Linked DNA regions of Homo sapiens: regions 1 and 3 are each linked to region 2. The links are contacts of gene promoters, found by promoter capture Hi-C in human tissues and cell types (Jung and others, 2019). All regions are on one chromosome and are shown on one strand. Each heading gives the region's core, a stretch centred on a gene start or on the middle of the fragment in contact. The rest is flanking DNA. Distances are from core to core; before and after follow the strand shown. Region 1 overlaps UNC13B (unc-13 homolog B). Region 2 holds the start of STOML2 (stomatin like 2). Region 3 overlaps UNC13B (unc-13 homolog B).

The links. Contacts are between HindIII fragments. The study calls those that stand out against the background at their distance.
Region 1: a fragment that was not itself captured here is called in contact with the fragment with the promoter of STOML2 in region 2 in 1 of the 25 tissues and cell types used here (mesenchymal stem cells).
Region 3: a contact is called between a fragment that was not itself captured here and the fragment with the promoter of STOML2 in region 2, in 1 of the 25 tissues and cell types used here (mesendoderm cells).

Annotation. Positions count from the first base shown.
Region 1 is chr9:35,318,112-35,321,364 of GRCh38, forward strand. The region is part of intron 11 of UNC13B (unc-13 homolog B); the gene reads left to right. Among named protein-coding and RNA genes, the nearest start is that of UNC13B, 160 kb to the left of the region's middle. The HindIII fragment of the contact is 3,105 bases long and covers 1-2,804 here.
Region 2 is chr9:35,101,717-35,104,735 of GRCh38, forward strand. It overlaps STOML2 (stomatin like 2), which reads right to left and starts at 1,415. Exons shown (of 10, transcript NM_013442.3): 1 at 1,334-1,415; 2 at 970-1,107; 3 at 379-478; 4 at 188-246; 5 at 1-95. The coding sequence starts at 1,378. ATOSB (atos homolog B) reads right to left here. Exons shown (of 9, transcript NM_025182.4): 9 at 2,401-3,019. It also overlaps a transcript of PIGO-AS1 not described here. RefSeq lists enhancers at 793-1,052, 1,183-1,452, 1,463-1,512, 1,633-1,682. The HindIII fragment of the contact is 4,892 bases long and covers 1-1,492 here.
Region 3 is chr9:35,243,403-35,246,618 of GRCh38, forward strand. All of the region lies in intron 6 of UNC13B (unc-13 homolog B), which reads left to right. Among named protein-coding and RNA genes, the nearest start is that of UNC13B, 83 kb to the left of the region's middle. The HindIII fragment of the contact is 7,349 bases long and covers 1-3,216 here.

The DNA of each region.
Region 1 (3,253 bases), core at 2-2,501, 220 kb after region 2:
CATACAGACAGAGGCATGGTTTACCTAAGAGTAACTAAGAACTTAATTGAATAAGAGAACAATAGTAAAGATATTCTTAACACAGGTAAAGTAACTGGCAACTGATTAGAAATGTCCAAGAGGAGAACAAGAAGCCAGAGTTTAAAGAGGGTTCTGATAACAGTTTAAGATTGAAGCAGAAATGTACCATTTGTACTTAAGATGAGATTTAGTAACATATTGGTTGAAGTTATGTGAGAGAAAGAAGTTAAGCACAACACCAAGGATTTTTTTGCCCCGCTGCCGCCCCGCCACCCCAATCACTCCTTCACCCTCCACTCAAGATAATCTTGTTAGTTTCCTATTTATCGTTCTAGAATATCTGTCTACAAGTACAAGCAAATATGAATATACTAATGCTTCTTTACCCGTTTTTATACAAAAGATGGTATATTATACATACCAAGCATTTCTTGATTTTGTATTTGGAGATCCTTCCATATCAGCTCTAAGAAAATTTTTCATTCTTTTTTATAGCTGCGTAATATTCCATTGAATGAAATATTTGTTCTGCAAGTATTTAGTCCTTTGTTGATGTTCATTTGGTTGTTTCCAGTCATTTGCTGTTAACCATGTTACAAATGAATAACCTTGTACATATGTCATTTTGCATGTGTGCAGGTATACCAAGGGGATATGCATTTATAATTTTGATAAATATTGCCAAATTGCCATCCATTTGTCTATGGCTTAAAATAACAAGGGCTTGTTTCTTGCTCGTATTCCACATCAAGGAGTTTTGCTTTAAAGTTGTCTTCTCTCTGCAATCCAGGCTGATGGAGCAACCAACACCTGGAACACTGCCAGTCACAATGGTAAAAGGAAGGGAAAGATAACAAGTGAAAGAAAATATAGCAAGTTGTACTTTGGCTCTTAAAACTTCTACCCAGAAGTTATTAATACATATGTTGCTTTTGCTCATATTTTCCTAGCTAAAGGAAATCATGAAACCAAACTTAACTTTTTAAAAATAATTTCAACTTCTATTAATATTTTAGATACAGAGGGCTGAGTGCAGTGGCTTATGCCTGTAATCCCAGCAGGAGTTTGAGACCAGCCTGGCCAACATGGTGAAACCCTCATCCTTACCAAAAATACAAAAATTAGCCGGGTGTGGTGGTGCATACCTGTAATCCCAGCTACTTGGGAGGCTGAGGCAGGAGAATTGCCTGAACCCGGGAAGCAGAGGTTGCAGTGGGCCAAGCTCATGCCACTGCACTCCAACCTAGGTGACAGAGTGAGACCCTATCTCAAAAAAAAAAAAAAAAAAAAAAAAAAAAAAAAAATTAGATACAGGGGATACCTGTGCAGGTTTGTTACATAGGTATTTTGCATGATGCTGAGATTTGGGGTATAGATCCTGTCACCCATGTAGTGAACATAGTACTCAGGTAGTTTTTCAATCCCTGCCATCTTCCTCCTTCCTCCCTCTAGTAGTCTACAGTGTCTATTGTTCCCATATTTATGAGTACCCAATGTTTAGATGCCACTCATTTTTTAAAACTTTTTTTTTTAATTTTATTTTTTTGAGATGGGGTCTCACTCTGTCACCCAGGCTGGAGTGCACGGGCATGATCACAGCTCACTGCAACCTTAACTCCTGGGCTCAAGCAACCCTTCACCTCAGCCTCCCAAGTAGCTGGGACCACAGGCATGTGCCACTTATGCCCAGCAAATTAAAAAATTCTTGTGTAGAGATAGGGTCTCATTATGTTTCCTAGGCTGGTCTTGAACTCCTGGCCTCAAGCAATCCTCTTGTCTCAGACTCCCAAAGTGCTGGGATTACAGGCATGATTATAGGCCTGGCCCCTAGCTCCCATTTATAAATGAGAATATGCAATATATGGTTTTCTGTTCCTGCATTAATTTGCTTAAAATTATGGCCTCCAACTGCATCCATGTTGTTGCAAAGGACATTTCACTGTTTTTTATGGCTGCATAGTATTCCATGATGCATATGTACCACATTTTCTTTATCCAGTCCACTGTTGATGGGTACCTAGGTTGATTTGATGTCTCTGCTATTGTGAATAATGCTGCGATGAATATATGAGGGTATGTGTTTTTTTGGTAGAACAATTTGTTTTCTTTTCATTATATACCCAGTAATGGGATTGCTGGGTTGAATGCTAGCTCTGTTTTAATTAAAGTGGAGCAGTATGACATACTTTTAAAGAGATAGAGAAGGATATTTGTCAATGGCTTTAATGCCTACCCCCAAAAGTATATGCTTCCCATAGGGAGTGTACCAATTTATACTCCCACTAGTAATGTCTTAAGAGTGGTTTTCTCTTTCCTAACCCATCAGTAATGTATCAAACTTTTGGATTTTCACTTATCTGCTAGGCTCTTTTTGCTATCCTGTTTAGGTGAAATGCTTCCAACATATAGAATTATTTATATTTCAAAAATTCTCAGAGACTTTATATTTGCTGTTTCCCATGCTTAGAATGCTCTTTCTCTTAATTCACTTAGCTAACTTTTCATTCACATCTTTTAAAACCCAGTCAGCTGTCAGTTTTGGGGTAAAGTTTCTAGACTCTTTGCATATTTTTTTCTACTGCATGATGATGTAATGGAGTTACTTGTTTACTGCTATGTCTTACTTTTCTGTGTACTTCTTGTAAGATCCTTTAATGTCAGGCTAAGCTTTTTAAGGCTGATATTCAAGAGCCCAGTATGGAATCTGGCAAAGTGTGTTTAGCTAACCTTTTGTGGATGCTTAACCAGCCAGAGATGCCCCGCATTATTTCCACAGAAGTCTCCATGTGCTTCTTTATCTTCTAATTAATACTATTTTTAATTATTCCCAAGGCCCAGCACTTAAAGTCAATAATAGCAGAATATTAACTATTAACATTAGCTATATTTTCTTATATAAGCTTTATATACATGAACATAAATTTACTGAATTTAGATCATAATATGTGTGGATTTAAACATTTTTTTTCTCACTTTGTTTTTGTGAACTTTATTCTGGGTTATTAAATATTTTTGAAAACATGATTTAATGACTTAATAGATTAATATTCTCTTATATAGGTATTTTATAATATTCCTCTTGTTTCTTTCTTTTCTTTTTTCTTCTTTTCTTTTGAGACAGCGTCTTGCCTGGGCTGGAGTGCAGTGGTACAAGCACAGCTCACTGCAGCCTTGACCTTCCAGGCTCAAGTGATCCTCCCACCTCAGCCTCCCAAGTAGCTGGGACTACAGG
Region 2 (3,019 bases), core at 165-2,664:
ACTTTGTCCAGAGAGAGTTTGCCGAGCTCTGATCTCATGGTTGTTTGAGCTAGCTGGGTGACGGCATACTCAGGGTCCTCCACACCGTAGCTTGCCTGAGATGGACACGGATAGTGTAAGAAGCTTGGGCACAAGATTTTAGTGAAGAGGGCAACTCAAAAGGCTGGATAAAGTAGGGGACAGGTACCTTGTAAGGGTCCATGATGCGCAGGTAAAGGACTCCATCGATTTGCAGAGTTACATTGTCTGTAGAACCAGGAGAGAAAACGGGGAAAGTCAGGCCTCTAGGTCCCAACCAGTTCTTTCTACTAAGCTCTGGATCTACAGCAACCACATCCTAATAGCCTCAGAGCACCCATGTCACCCTGAACCCCTCACCGAGAGTCACAGCCGACTGCTCAGGCACGTTGATGACAATTTCCTTGAGACTCTGCACATATCGGATCCGGTCTAACACAGGGATGAGGATGTTCAAACCCTGGAAAGAGGAGTCATGGGTCCTCAGAAGGCTGGGAACTATTGGGTTGGGACCTAAGCTAGTCCTGGAGTATGTAGGGAGTCAACACATGGAACATGCCCAGAAAAGCAGCAGCTCCTACCAAGAAATAAGTCCTCAGAAGGCTGAGGTGTCACTGGTAAGAAAACCCAAGAGAACAGGAATGCAAGACTAGGCCCCTGAATGGAGGGGAGAGTCATGAGAATCGGAGCCAGCAGAATAGCCATCTCTATGCAGACTGAGAGGTAGGGCTGAGAGTGGGCAGGGGAGATTCCCAAGAATGGGGCCTGTGAGATGCATAGGAAAAGGTGGTAACATGGGGATGATGGTCAGCAGCCTGGGCCCTGTCAGGTCTGGCCTACAGAGTCGGGAGCTAACAGTGCGGGCAGGCCCAAAGGAAGTCCTCCCGACATTGCATGTCGTGAGGGATTGGTCATCTGGCTGGCCCAGGGTGGGCAGAAGAGGTTTCTCACAGGCTCCAGGATCCGGTGGAATCGGCCCATTCGCTCCACCACCCAGGCCTCCTGCTGCGGCACGAACAGTACCACGGTGTTTCGGGGCAATCCAGAGGAGGCGCGGCGCGGAGCGCGGCCAGAAGCCAGTAGAGAGCCCTGAAGGAAAGAAGAGGGTGAGCAGAGATCCCATCTGGCCAGACACGCCGCCCCTCGGTCCTGAAGGCATCTCCATAAACCACGACCCTCAGGATCCTCGGAGAATCACATGGGGACCATGACCTCTGACCCCAGTCCTCTCCAAAAGTTGGAATTTCGCTCTTTTCCAGCGGAGAACCCAGGTAATCTCTGTCCTGACCCTCTGGAAAGGTTGCCTCGCTCTCACCCTCAGCAAAAGGGCCCCAGTGCCCCGCGCCGCGCGCGCCAGCATTTCCCACCGCCGCAGCGACCTCCGGAACCAACGAGACGAGCGGAGCGGTCGCTCCCAGAAGCCTACCCGAGCCTTTCCTCTTGCAGTTCCGCTCCCCCGGATGTACTTCCGGCAGCTCCCTCCCCCGCTTCAACACTCACCCAATCAGCGTTACTTGGTCGAACGGCGCGTCAAGTTGTTCCCTGGGAAACGCAGACCTTCTAGAGAAGGGCGAAGGCTGTGGTTGTTCTGGGTTTAGCTGTTCACGCCGAAGATCCCCGGCCTGATGGCCAAAATGGAGGCTATTTTTCGCGGGCATTATCACTCAGACACCACGCACTGAATTATTCGTCCTCACCCGAGACTCAGTTTGCCCACCAGAGCGTAGTATCGCCCCCATCTGTCACCATAGCGACTAGTGGATTGGAGCTGACTCGTTGCCATGGTTGCCATAGTGATATTCTCTGGTAGTCCCGCTGTGTTGTGCCCAGGACTCCCACTGGGGACTGACCCCAATCCCGTTGCCATGGAAACTGGGCCTAATATTGCCTGGCGATTGGGCCGAGATTTTCCCCTCCCCTCTTTCCTCAAAGACACTGCAGCTCCTTCCCTGTCTTCCCAAGCAAGGTTTGTTATGCCCGGTCTTAAATACAGTCCAGCAAACAGCCTCAACGTTCAACCTTGTCTGGAGCATGTCACCTTGCCCACATCCCTAATGCTCTGGTAGTCAAGAGACCTCCGTAGTCACCTCCATTTTACATATGAGGGCACTGAAGTTCTGAGGGGCTAAAGTCATTAATAGAACCAGTATTAGAATCCTGATCTACAATTCAGAGTTCAGCTTCTACGGCTGAACTTTACCCACCAACCCCTCCGAAAGGAGAAAAACCAGGCCCCAGGAATCAGCAGGGACTAGCCTAAGACCTCATGGGCCCAGGCCTGTTGCCTCTCTGGTAGAAAGGGCTGAGTCCCAGCTCCAGGAAGGCCCTCCATCCCCCTTCACACCCTCTCCCCAACAACAACAACAACAACAAAAGTAGAGCTTAGTTCAAGTTTCCAAACAAGAATTTATTCTTTCTTTTTTAATCTTTTTTTCTAAAAAAAAGTACCAGGTACAATTTTTTCCTGTTTTTGATTTGCTTTGTTTTTTCAAGTTTCAGCAAATGCTTGTTCCCCTCAGCCCAGCCCCAGGAGTTAGGACTGAGGCTGGGTCAGAGTCTGGAGTGGGGAATGGGGTAGTTTGGAACCACATGACTGAGTTTGAGGGGTGCCCCTCACCCCAGCTGAGGTAGGTGGGTCAGAGTCTGGCCAGGTGAGAGGAGGCACCCCAGTGCTTGGCCCTGACTCTGCCCCCTGGACACCTTCTTCAGTCAGGACCCCAAAACAAGGAGACACAGGTAGGAGGAGAGGGACAACTGGAGTCTGGAGCCCTAGGTGAGGGGTGGTTAACCCCTGTGTGTGTGCATACATGCACACTCACACACACATACCACACAAAGACAAGCTTGTGCACACACACATACGCATAACTTGGCTTTCAGAGATAGGTCAGAGGGTAGGGGAAGTGAAGGGACTGGGGAAGGACAGGGGAAGCTGAGTCTTTGGCTACTGACTCAGTCCCTCTGGAATAGCCCCTCTTCCCTCAGCTGAGGGAAAGCAGTT
Region 3 (3,216 bases), core at 344-2,843, 140 kb after region 2:
AAAATCTCCAATGCTCTTTATAGGTTGCCCAGGGAGGGGCCCAAGAGCATGTTGTCCTGAGAATGAAATCACTTAAATTGCATTGAAGAAAAAAGGCAGCTAGAAGATTGCCTGAAATGTCACTAGAAGGTTCCATCTCCAATTTATTCTGTTCTTCCCACTCTCCCATACTGTGGTACTAGTCTGGCTGTAGACTCTTAGAGAGGGAGCTTGTACCAGGGAATCTGTCCTCTTTTGTTACACCTGTGAGTTGGAGGCATTTCTTTTGCTTCTACTGTCTCTCAGTTTTTTGGATATTATTCTTATTTGTGTCCTGTTTTTGAGGATGTTTAGACTATTGCATTGTTTGTTCTTGCTGGTCCTAACTTACCTCCAGAGATGAGGCTGGTGTGTATAAGAGAATGCATTCAGCTCAACCTGGGGCATCAGGATTGGAGAATGTTTTTGTTATTGCTGATGGAGGGAAAAGATGATAAATTTGTTTATTTTGGACATGTGGGCTACTAAAAAATGGGTCTGATTATAAGATATACTTTGAGTGCCAGAGGATATTTCAGCAGAAATTGTTGATAAACAATTTCATGAGATAATTTGAAGTTGAGGTTTGAATGGGTAGGGAGCTGTAGGCATAGAGCTTCATTAATATATTAGTAACAATTGAAGTCATAGGAATGGAAAAACTTGCTCAGGTAGAGCGTATGGAGACAGTATTAAAGAACAGGAACAAAATCTTGGGAAACCTTAGACATAGAATTCTGAGAAACAAAGGAGACTGAGAAAGGGCAACCTTAAAGAGAGAGAATAAGATAACCAGGAAAGATTAATGGAACAAAGAAAAAAAGAGATTCAAGGCAGAAATTCTTGACAGTATCACATGTTAAATCAAGTGAATTATGAAATAGAGCTATTGGATTTGGTGATTGATGACGAGTATACATCCATAGACTAGTACAGAAAGCCAAAATGCAGTGGTTTGATGACTGTATTTGTTTCCTACAGCTGCCATCACAAAGTACCACAAACTAGGTGGCTTACAGCAACCAAAATTTGTTTTCACACAGTTCTGTAGACTGGAAGTCTGAAATTAGGCTGTCAGCAGGATCAGTTCAGCTCCGTCTAGAGGCTCTGAAGGAGGAAGCATCCTGTACTCTTCTGCCTCTGATGGTTGCTGGCAGTCCTTGCTGTTCCTTAGCTTGTAGATGTATCATTCTAATCTCTGCCTCTGTTGTAATGTGCCTCCCTGTGTGTCTGTCTGTGTCTTCACAATGCATTCTCCTGTCTCTGTGTGTCTGTGTCTAAATTTCCATTTTTCTTGTAAGAACAACAGTCATTGAATTAATTTGATTATATCTGCAGAGACCTTGTTTCCAAATAAGGTCATATTCACAGATACTTAGGGTTAGAAGTCTAACATATCTTTTAGGACATAGTTCAACCCACAGTGAGTTAAATGAAAGATGAAGAAATGGCATTTGGGACAAGCAACATCTACTCTTTTCAGGGTTTTCCGTTACCTCCTTTATTCTTGGTAGGCTTTCTGTTATTAAGCTGTATAACTCTTCTCATGTCCACACCAACATCCTAACTTTTCTTCATTGTTGAAAGCTCCAGTCCTCTTTCTCCACTTAGTAACTCTGAGCATTTGTGCTATCTTTGCATGTACTTTACTTTGTGTTTTCGTTCTTCCCAAGCCTGGCTGTGGAGTGGTATTCAGCCTTTCAGACTGCCATCATCTTTGTTTTCCTAGTAAAGAAGCATGTTGTACTTTTCGTTTTATAGGCTTTGCTCTGTGTCATTATACAGAATCAGAAGAAGGGATTAAAACAATTTAAAAACCAAATATAACTTATACAAAAATTGTGGAATTTTATAAGTTCTAATAATAATGGTTCTTGGTCTGTGGTTCCCAACTGCATATCAGATTTTTGCTTTCTGTTTTTTTTTTTTAATTTTATTATTTTTATACTTTAAGTTTTAGGGTACATGTGCACAATGTGCAGGTTTGTTACATATGTATACATGTGCCATGTTGGTGTGCTGCACCCATTAACTCGTCATTTACATTAGGTATATCTCCTAATGCTATCCCTCCCCCCCTCCCCCCACCCCACAACAGGCCCCAGTGTGTGATGTTCCCCTTCCTGTGTCCAAGTGTTCTCATTGTTCAATTCCCACCTGTGAGTGAGAACATGCGATGTTTGGTTTTTTGTCCTTGGTGATAGTTTGCTGAGAATGATGGTTTCCAGCTTCATCCATGTCCCTACAAAGGACATGAACTCATCATTTTTTATGGCTGTATAGTATTCCATGGTGTATATGTGCCACATTTTCTTAATCCAGTCTATCATTGTTGGACATTTGGGTTGGTTCCAGGTCTTTGCTATTGTGAATAGTGCCGCAATAAACATACGCATGCATGTGTCTTTATAGCAGCATGATTTATAATCCTTTGGGTCTATACCCAGTAATGGGATGGCTGAGTCAGATGGTATTTCTAGTTCTAGATCCCTGAGGAATCGCCACACTGTATTCCACAATGGTTGAACCAGTTTCCAGTCCCACCAACAGTGTAAAAGTGTTCCTATTTCTCCACATCCTCTCCAGCACCTGTTGTTTCCTGACTTTTTAATGATCGCCATTCTAACTGGTGTGAGATGGTATGTCATTGTGGTTTTGATTTGCATTTCTCTGATGGCCAGTGATGATGAGCATTTTTTCATGTGTCTGTTGGCTGCATAAATGTCTTCTTTTGAGAAGTGCCTGTTCATGTCCTTTGCCCACTTGTTGATGGGGTTGTTTTTTTTTTCTTGTAAATTTGTTTGAGTTCATTGTAGATTCTGGATATTAGCCCTTTGTCAGAGGAGTAGATTGCAAAAATTTTCTCCCATTCTGTAGGTTGCCTGTTGACTCTGATGGTAGTTTCTTTTGCTGTGCAGAAGCTCTTTAGTTTAATTAGATCCCATTTGTCAATTTTGGCTTTTGTTGCTATTGCTTTTGGTGTTTTAGTCATGAAGTCCTTGCCCATGCCTATGTCCTGAATGGTATCGCCTAGGTTTTCTTCTAGGGTTTTTATGATTTTAGGTCTAACATTTAAGTCTTTAATCCATCTTGAATTAATTTTTGTATAAGGTGTAAGGAAGGGATCCAGTTTCAGCTTTCTACATATGGCTAGCCAGTTTTCCCAGCACCATTTGTTGAATAGGGAATCCTTTTCCC